Regions from separate parts of the Homo sapiens genome. Here region 1 is linked to region 2. Evidence: promoter capture Hi-C in 16 types of primary human blood cells and fetal thymus (Javierre and others, 2016). All regions are on one chromosome and are shown on one strand. The core of a region is centred on a gene start or on the middle of the fragment in contact, and the rest is flanking DNA. Distances in the headings are between cores, read along the strand shown.

Evidence for each region. The method cuts DNA at HindIII sites, captures the fragments that hold promoters and counts their contacts. A CHiCAGO score of 5 or more calls a contact.
Region 1: a fragment that was not itself captured here is called in contact with the fragment with the promoter of DNAJC11 in region 2 in 1 of 17 cell types (monocytes); the score reaches 6.4 in monocytes.

Annotation. Positions count from the first base shown.
Region 1 is chr1:6,798,216-6,803,564 of GRCh38, forward strand. The region is part of intron 1 of CAMTA1 (calmodulin binding transcription activator 1); the gene reads left to right. Among named protein-coding and RNA genes, the nearest start is that of CAMTA1, 15 kb to the left of the region's middle. The HindIII fragment of the contact is 730 bases long and covers 2,759-3,488 here.
Region 2 is chr1:6,699,775-6,704,481 of GRCh38, forward strand. It overlaps DNAJC11 (DnaJ heat shock protein family (Hsp40) member C11), which reads right to left and starts at 2,042. Exons shown (of 16, transcript NM_018198.4): 1 at 1,955-2,042. The coding sequence starts at 2,026. RefSeq lists a silencer at 1,829-2,278. The HindIII fragment of the contact is 16,969 bases long and covers 1-3,553 here.

The DNA.
Region 1 (5,349 bases), core at 1,874-4,373, 100 kb after region 2:
GACCTCAGGTGATTCACCCACCTCGGCCTCCCAAAGTGCTGGGATTACAGGTGTGAGCTACCGCACCCAGCCTAAAAAAGGAATATTTAATGGTAGAGGGCTCTGTAAAAACCCCCTAATTTTCAAAGCCATGTGCCACTGTAGAATTTATGAAAAGTTATGGGCTATTATTATTAGGTTTCAAAAAGTCTGGAATACTGGCGGTAGCATCAGAATTATTTATTTATTTATCTTTTGAGACAGAGTCTATCTCTGTCGCCCAGGCTAGAGTGCAGTGATGCAAGCTCCACTTCTCGAGTTCACGCCATTCTCCTGCCTCAGCCTCTTGGGTAGCTGGGACCACAGGCGCCCACCACCACACCTGGCTAATTTTTTTTTTTTTTTTTTTTTTTGAGACGGAGTCTCGCTCTGTCGCCCAGGCCGGACTGCGGACTGCAGTGGCGCAATCTCGGCTCACTGCAAGCTCCGCTTCCCGGGTTCACGCCATTCTCCTGCCTCAGCCTCCCGAGTAGCTGGGACTACAGGCGCCCGCCACCGCGCCCGGCTAATTTTTTGTATTTTTAGTAGAGACGGGGTTTCACCTTGTTAGCCAGGATGGTCTCTATCTCCTGACCTCATGATCCGTCCGCCTCTGCCTCCCAAAGTGCTCGGATTACAGACGTTAGCCTCCACCTCCACGCCTGGCTAAAGCGTTATCATTTTTATCTAACCCTGAACCAATCAGTGATTGGTTAGTTCTCTAGCTGTGAAGGCTTTGCACTTCCTAGACAGCTTGTAGAACAAGCCCACTTGGATTCCCAGCTCAAACTCTTTCCTTTTTACTATTTATTTATTATTTATTTATTCGTTACTTATTATTAATTAAAAAAATTTTTTAGAGACAAGAGTCTTGATCTGTCACCCAGGCTAGAGTGCCATCACAGCTCACTGCAACCTTGAACTCTTGGGTTCAAGTGATCCTCCTGCCTCAGCCTCCTGAGTAGTGAGGACTACGGGCGTGTGCCACCACACCCGGCTAATTCTTTTTTAATTTTATGGAGAAAGGGTCTTGCTATGTTGCGCAGGCTTGTCTTGTACTCCTGGCCTCAAGCAGTCATCCTGTCTCAGCCTCCCAAAGTGCCAGGCTTACAGGCATGAGCCGCTGTGCCTGGCTTGTACTCTTTCACTAGCTGGGAATGCTGGTGAGCAGGACTCAAGGATCCCAGCAGAGCTGCATCCTGTGCTGTCTTTGCTGCCACTTAGGTGGACCAGGAGCTAGAAGCCTTTCTCTCCATGGCCTCCATACCTTCTTTTACCAGATGGTATTTCTGCATTTATCACTCTTGATTCCAGCACAGCTTTTCCTCATCTTGCTTTTCTCAGACCTCAGCTCTTATGTAATGAGATAGTTGGTAGTCATTTTGAGGGGATTCATGTGTTGGGTAAAGGGTTTTCCTAGCGATGACCTCGAAAGTTCCTTCCCATTAATAATAATTACTATTAATAATTAATAGCAATAACTAATGATAAAACAGAACAGTTGCAGCAATATACTGTAATAAAAGTTGTGTGAATGTGGTCTCTCTCTCTCTCTGATTATCTTATTGTACCATACTCACCTATTTTTGGACCTTAGTTGACCGCTTGTAACTGAAACCATGGATAAGAGGGGGACTATTGTGTAAGGAAATGAAGTCGGAGATATGGAATTTCATTTCAGGGCTTGCTTTCCTGATATTCAGCTATTCTGTATAACTGTATCTTTTCCTTTTGAGGTCCTTGCTCCAGGACAAGAATAATATGTTGACTCAAGCTGTATGGGGGGATTTGAACTACAGACACTCAGATATCTCCTTTCTGAGGTACATAGAGGGCTTAATTTTTTAGGTCTGTCTGTTTAATATACTATATTTACTTTAAAAAACGTAGGCCGGGTGCTGTGGCTCGGTGCCTATAATCTAAGCACTTTGGGAGGCCGAGACGGGAGGATTGCTTTAGCCCTGGAGTTCGAGACCAGCCTGGGCAACATAGTGAGACCTTGTCTCTACTAAAAATAGAAAAAATTAGCCAGATGTGTTGGTGTGCGCCTGTGATCCCAGGTACCTGGGAGGCTGAGGTTGGAGGATTACTTGAGCCCTTGAGGTCAAGGCTGCAGTGAGCTACGATCACGCCACTGCACTCCAGTCTGGATGACAGAGTGAGATCCTGTCTCAAAACAAACAAAATGTAAAAAAATTTAAATTTATTAAAAAAGATGTACAACACCAAAATGTTCATAGTTATTCTGTATGACAGATCTGAGGTCTTTGTTCAGACATAGATGAGGGTTCATAGTTTTGGAAAATAGACTTAAATAATATATGATTACAGATGAAAAATATTTGCTAACCTCAGACTTTTTATGTTTAAGGTAGTATTTATATTCATTTAGTTGTACTTTCTGGAGTTGATTAATATAACTGTTATTAAAATCTATCGATTCCCAGTAATTCAGTAAATGAAGACTCTTCCTATTTAGAAACTCGTGTGGATTGGGGAGTTGCTGTGGGCCCACTGTCATTGATCATATCACATCTTCACTTGAACCTGCTCCCTGGGCCTCCTATAGGCCTCGCGTTTGGAGAGGCCGTGAACATAATTTATTTTTGGAAGTTTCTTTCATTTTTAAAGATACTGAGAGGCAAGTTGAAGTTCCTGGTGTTCGTGTAAACATTCCCTGCCTTATCCTTTCCATCTCAGCCATTATGAAATGTTCTGGCTGAATCATTTGCTTTCACAAAGCTTTGATGAAAGTTTCTTCCTCATTTGGTTTTCTTGATAGAGGCTGTTGTGCTAAAAAGAAAGCTATAACAAGTTAGAAGGGTGGAGAGTGGGCACTTAACATTTTTGAAGTACTTGTCTTTCTTCCTAGGGGTCCTCCAGAAATTGATCATAGATAACTTGACCAAATTCAAGGCCCAGAGATTTCTTCCAGGCATTCTGGGAGGGAAGGAACATCAGGCTTTCTGTACTGAATCTAATTATTCTAAATATTTCCCACTGCAGCTTGTATGAGTGTTTTCTGATGCAAATATGGTGATAGTGGCGACCTCTCTAACTGGGCTAAATATCCTTGACAGCTTTTTATCTGTCCTCTCCAAGTATTTTTAGTCTCTTTAGCTTCTGTGGCCATGTCTGGAGGAACTGAGGATGGATTTAGCTGCTCTGGTGCTGCTCCAAGTTGTTGTGGGTGCTCTTTGCTACCTTCGTCACTGTCCTGCCACAGTCCTGCCACTGATGAGGCTCCTGGCCCTTGTCATTTGATGAGGGAACATAAACACTTGTTTAATAAAAATAAAAAAGTCATGATTTTCAGAATGCTTTGAAAATAAGCTATGGCTAATGGTGATACACAATAGGAATGTCCCTAATTTCACTAAATTGTATGCTCAAAAAGGGTTAAAGTGGTAAATTTTATGTTATGCATATTTTGCCACAATTAAAAAAATAAAAACTTCAAATGGATTTGAAGCTTAATGAGAAAACTAGTTATAATGTCCTAACAGTAAATATATGGCCAATATTTTCATGACCCCAAGGTGGGAGGCTGTGCCTTAAATAAACTGTCAGAATCACACATTAAAAAAAAAAAAAAGTGATGGTAATCAGGCCCTGAGGTTCATTTATACAGAAAGTGATTTTTAGGTGAGATTTTAATATTTGCAATATTTATATTTGTAAAGAGGATTGGCTAGCTCATTCAGAAAAGTCTGAGGTTCTTAATAAACACTAGGAAACAGATGGTTTGGGGTTGATGTCAGGGAAGGTAAGCAGGCCGTGCTTTAGATTAGAGCACTTTTGATTGCAAGTCCCATGAGCCACACAGTTTAGGCCAAGTGAAAGCAGTTTTAGTCTAAGAAGAGCAGAAGCAATCGTAGCCTCTCGGGACAGAAACTGAAGTGCAGCTGGGCAGTGGGAACTGGATCTGGAGAGTCTGGAGTACATGTCTTCTCTGGAGCTGGGCTTTTTCCATTCACATGTAGCTTCCTTGCTTGAGTTACATGTAGTGGCCTTAGTCATGGCTCCTGCATGTCCTGACTCTAGTTCCAGTACTCATCATCATCTGACTCCCATTTCTATGGCTCAGTACAAAAATATTCAAGACTGGGTATTGGACTGACTCCTCTCAGCCATTTGCTTTGTTTCCATAGGCCAGGTGATCATCTCACTCTGGTCGACTATGAAAGAAGGTTGGTTAGATCCAGCAGCCTGCTGATCATTTAGAGGGTCTTAGAGTGAGAGGAGATTGTGTGAGAAGCTGGTTATCATAGCAGGGGGTCCTGGCACCTCAAACTCTGTCCCCATCAAACAGTGTAAAAGAAAAGATATTGACTCCTAAAGGAGTGTCTTATGTTCAGATGCTATAGAGTTTTGCAGAGAAAGTGTTCAGTGTAGCTACAGATAGAAGGCCAAGTGTCCTTGGTCAGCCAGCCTGGGTGTGTGTGGAGTAAGTTAGTGGTAGGTGTAGTAACTGTCTCAAAGCTTTTTCTTTGTCTCTCTCTCTCTCTTTTTTTTTTTTGAGACAAGGTCTTATTCTGTCGCCCAGGCTGGAGTGCAGTAGCACAATTTCAGCTCACTGAAGCCTCGACAGCCTGGGCTCAAGTGATCCTCCCACCTCAGCCCCCCAAGCTGAGGACTTAGCTGGAAAACACAGGCATATGCCACAACGCCCGGCTGATTTTTATGTTTTTAGTAGAGACAGGGGTTTCATTATGTTGCCTAGGCTGGTCTTGAACTCTTGGCCAGCTCAAGCAATCCACCTGCCTCAGTCTCTCAAAGGGCTGGGATTACAGGCGTGAGCCACCGTGCCCGGCCCCAGAACTTTTTCTTTGAATAGTGGAGAAGCAGAACACCTTGGAATGCTATGGTCTGTGCGGTCTTTGCCCTGTGGGTGTTCTCAGGTGGAATCAGGCAGTTTGGGTGATGTCAGTATCATTTGAGGTCTTCCACAGTTCAGCTATTTGGGTGGGCTTCCCCACTTTTCCCCTTGTTTTGGGTCGGTAAACATAAAAGGATGGAGATGTGTATCCTTAGTAAGAATGGGAGACGTTGCCTTCAGAATGGGTAGAAAGCAGAAAACAAGCGGGGAAGAAAACAGAAAACAGCCTCTCTTTAAGTGTATGTGGCTGCCTGTGTGCACAGTCCTTCACCTTTTCCTTAGTATATCCCTCCTGCCTCTGATCTCTTGTTGTTCTTGATTTTTCATGGTAGAAGGAGGAAACAAAATTATAGAAGACAGGTGGAATACTGTGAAAGAATAGTAGTTTGGAGATAACTATGTAAAGGGCTACTAGCCTGCGCACCGTTGAATTCTCTGAATTTACAGCTGTT
Region 2 (4,707 bases), core at 792-3,291:
GGAGTGATTAGCCCGAAGTGTTGATTAATGAGAACAAGAACCCCCAGGTGCCCTATGGCAGCCTAACAAAATCTGCAATTCCCAAAGATATTTCACTGGACATTCTCATAGTACAGTGGCCCATACATTCGAGGGATTCTTTCATGAGGTGCTCAGTATCAAGCCTCTGAGCCCAAGCTAAGCCATCATATCCCCTATGACCTGCACATATACATCCAGATGGCCTGAAGCAACTGAAGATCCACAAAAGAAGTGAAAATAGCCAGGTCCTGCCTTAACTGAAGATATTCCACCATGGTGATTTACTCCTGCCCCACCCTAACTGGTCAATTGGCCTTATGACAATACACGCTCCCCGCCCTTGTGATAATGTACTTTGTGATATTCCGCCCTTAAGAAGGTACTTTGTAATATTCTCCCCACTCTTGAGAATGTACTTTGTGAGATCCACCCCCTGCCCACAAAAAATTGCTCCTAACTCCACCGCCTATCCCAAACCTATAAGAACTAATGATAATCCCACCACCCTTTGCTGACTCTCTTTTCGGACTCAGCCCATACGCACCCAGGTGATTAAAAAGGTTTATTGCTCACACAAAGCCTGTTTGGTGGTCTCTTCACACGGACGCGCGTGACACTCAAGGATACAGTACCAGAACTAGCAGCTTTGTAGTCCAAGGACTGGTAAGGTAAGGTGACAGACTAGCATGGAGCTCACAAGCTGGGCTCCAGAGTCAGACTGCCTGGGTTGAGTTCAGGCTCTTGCACTTTCTAGTAGTGTGACTTTAGACACACTACTTAATCTCTCTATGCCTTGGTTTCCTCAAGTGTAAATCAAGGGCTATCATAATACTTACCTTAAGAGCTATCCTCAGAATTAAATGAGATAACAGTACAAAGTTCATTCAGCATAGTGGTCCCACACAAGATAAGTTTGTATTATTAACATCACATAGACTAATATTTACTGACAACACACACTGAACCCGCTTTGGTTAGCATAGCCAAACTTGGCTAGCTTTCATTACCACTGGAAAACCTGAGAGATGGAATTAGGAATTCTCTGGCAGGGCTGAAAAGTCTGGACCCATCGGCTTAAAGAAACTGATCCACCTCATGACCTGACCCTGGAAGCCTTCTCGCCCTTCACACCTATCTCAACTCCAGACTAGTCAAGAACAAAGGAGTGTAGTGGGGCCCTACTACTGCCAGGCTATGTGAGACTCTCTCATGTTATCTTTTATTCGTTGAGGAGACAGGGTACAAGTGCTTGGTGTGAATGTTGAAGCTGTTGTTAGGGCACCACTTTTCTGGCCTAGGGCTTCTTCCTAATCTGCAGCCTCCGAGCCGAGGGTCTGTGTCCCGGAGGCTCTGCCTGCAATTTCTGGACATCGGGTCCAGGGGAATGAAAGAGGGCATGAGACGCATGCCTCTGAGGCTGGACCCACTTCAGAGGCAGAGCGTCCCCACGAAAGACTCGGGAACCGGAAAAAGCCCTAAGGACGTTCCCTAGTGGCCTTGACCTTGGTGGGTGAGACTCAGTTCGCCATCCTGCTGGCGGCGGGCGATGACACAGCCCCTCAGCCAGGACGAGTATGTGGGCTGAGCGCGAGACGGGGTCTCGGAGGACTGCTAACCCCACTACGGTGGCCTCCTCGGGGCCCCCGTTTCCTCTTGAGCGTGCGGGGGCCTCTGGCCCTACCCGGACACAGTGCACGCGGCGCACTGGCCTTCAGGAGCTGGGGCGGAGGCTGGCCCCGGAACCCCCGGCGGGAGGGTCTGGGCGGTGGGGACGCCTCCATCGGGCGGCTGGCGTGCACGTCGCCGGGGTCACGCGGCCTCCCCGACGGACCCGAGCCTCCCGTGGCGGGGGTGGGGCGGCCACCGCCAGCCCGGCCCTCCCGAACGACCGGGCTCGGCCTCAGCCCCCAGAGCGTCCAGCCGCTGGCCTCACCTCCCTGCGCACGTTCAGCAACGAGTAATAGTCTTCATTGTCCAGCTCCTCCTCGCTCAAGGCCGTCGCCATCTTCGCAACCTTTCACCCCGCCAAACCGGCAAGGCCGTGCTCAAGAGGGGCCAGTGATCCGCGTCAGGGACAGCGCGGGCCAGCCCGGCTGCGCCACAGCGGCCCCTGGCGGCCCGGAGCCGTCCGCGCCCGGCGGGAGTGCGCCTGCGCTTTGCGCCCCCGCGCGGCCTAGGGCGGGACGCGGCGCCTAGGCAGCCCTGGCGGGGTGACCACGCGGGTGTCTCTTCGTGCTCCCAATGGACGCGTGGCACGCGGCGTGGCTGCGTCCTCGGGGGCCTGAGATCCAGCCAGGACTCCCTAGGGCTTTTCCTGTACTAGAAAGGGAAACTTTGCTTTTTTTTTTTTTTTTTGAGACGGAGTCATACTCTGTCGCCCAGCCTGGTGTGTGTGCAGTGGCGCAATCCCGGCTCACTGAAGCCTCCACCTCCCGGGTTCAAGCGATTCTCCTGCCTCAGCCTCCCGAGTAGCTGGGACTCCAGGCGCGCGCCACCACGCCCAGTTAATTTTTTTGTATTTTTGGTAGAGACACGGTTTCACCATGTTGGCCAGGCTGGTCTGAGGCTCCTGAACTCAGGAGATCCTCGGCCTCCCAAAGTGCTGGGATTACAGGCATGAGCCACCGCGTCCTGCCTAGAAAGGGAAACTTTGAAGTCACCTCCAGGAGATTGTCATCCTCTGGGAGACAAACCCCTGTGATACCACCTGTTACCCCACTGGCCCCAAACTCCTGGAAGAAGCGCGAGGTGCCCCCAGTGCAGGGTGCATCCGGATCCTAGATATCCCCCAAATGACATTTGTTCCTACCTCCATTGTCTTTTCTCTTGGCCACCCAGAAGCCTTCCTGCCCAGAACAGGCCTCCTCATTTTAGTTATTTGTTATTGCTCTAATTTAGGAGCACCTGGCCATCTTTTCTGCTGCTTAAATGACAAAGCAATAACTATTTGGTTCCTGATATAATTGTCTCTGGCAGGCATGTGTACCTGCAGTCCCTACCCCAGAGCCATTCTCCTGTAAATTTCTCCCTTATAATTTATCGGTGGAGTCTAATTGATTTCAACCTGGTGCCTGCTGTTTGGTGCATTATTAAAGATGTCTTGGTTACAACAATCTAAATAATTTAAAGGTCTTCGAAATGACGCCATTGTCAAGGGAAGGTGGACAGCAGCCCACTCTTGCCACCTGTTTGGTTCCCGCTGACCTGCGCAAGTCTCAGAAACCTTTGTTGTTCCTTCACTAACCACCAGTCCATAGCCATCCCCGTTGCCCTTCATAAGCAGGTCTCCTGGGAAGCCCCGAACACCTGTCTGTGGATTTGAGAGGCTGATTTCTTTCTCTTTCTAATTTTTGGCCAGATGTGCACCATCTGGGCCTGTGTCTCATCCCTTCCAAGTTGCCCAGCCCTCTTAGGATCTTTTGGCATGAGACACTTCGGTGTGCTGAGACAGATTGTTCGGGTGGGTTGAGTCAGCCTGAAACAAACTGTCAGCCCAGGTTGTAAATTAAGGGCTATTTCTTTAGTTGTGTGAAGCTTCTCCACAACAGCTTCCATGGTCCATCAGCTCTTCCAGCAATGTTATGGGCTTTGCCTTTTTCTCCTTTGCAGAGAAAAGAGCTGTGGTTAGGGCCAAACTGCATGCTGACATTTGACAGTCTTTAAGAATTTCTTTCTTTTTTTTTTTTTTTGTTTGAGACAGAGTCTCACTCGGTCGCCCAGGCTGGAGTGCAGTGCCACGATCTTGGCTCACTGCAACCTCCGCCTCCCGGGTTCAAGCGATTCTCCTGCCTCAGCCTCCCAAGCAGCTGGGACTACAGGCGTGCGCCATCACGCCCAGCTAATTTTTGTATTTTTAGTAGAGACGGGGTTTCACCATATTGGCCAGGCTGGTCTCGAACTCCTGACCTCGTGATCCACCTGCCTCGGCCTCCCAAAGTGCTGGGATTACAGGCGTGAGCCACCGCACCCGGCCAAGAATTTCATACAGAGAGACTGGGGGTAAAAACAACAATGTGGAGACATTCCTTTTTCCCTTAGGTTTTTTTTTCTTTTTTCTTTTTTCTTTTTTTTTTGAGATGGAGTCTCGCTCTGTCGCCCAGGCTGGAGTGCAGTGGCACGATCTCGGCTCACTGCAAGCTCCACCTCCCGGGTTCATGCCATTCTCCTGCCTCAGCCTACTGAGTAGCTGGGACTACAGGCGCCTGCCACCACGCCTGGCTAATTTTTTTTTTTTGTATTTTTAATAGAGATGGGGTTTCACCATGTTAGCCAGGATGGTCTTGGTCTCCTGACCTAGTAATCCACCTGCCTCGGCCTCCCAAAGTGCTGGGATTACAGGCGTGAGCCACCGCGCCCGGCCTCCTTAGGTTTGTAGACATTAATTGGGCCATAATGCTTACTTGGGTAGAGAAGTTCTTTGCCATCCCTCCTCTGCTTTGGAAAACACAGCCTCTAGGAATTATATAAATGGAACATAACATATGTTTCACTACGCCCAGGTCTGTGTTTCTATGATTGAGAATGACCTGGTTTTTATCACCACTCAAACAAGATAAATAGTGACTCAGGAATGCTCTGTGGCTGTCCTCTCTTGGGCCCACGAGATTTTGTGTTATGGTTACTTGGAAAGTGGTGGTGATAAATAGAAAGCTAACTTAGATGCTCCACAGGCTTGAGGAATGTATC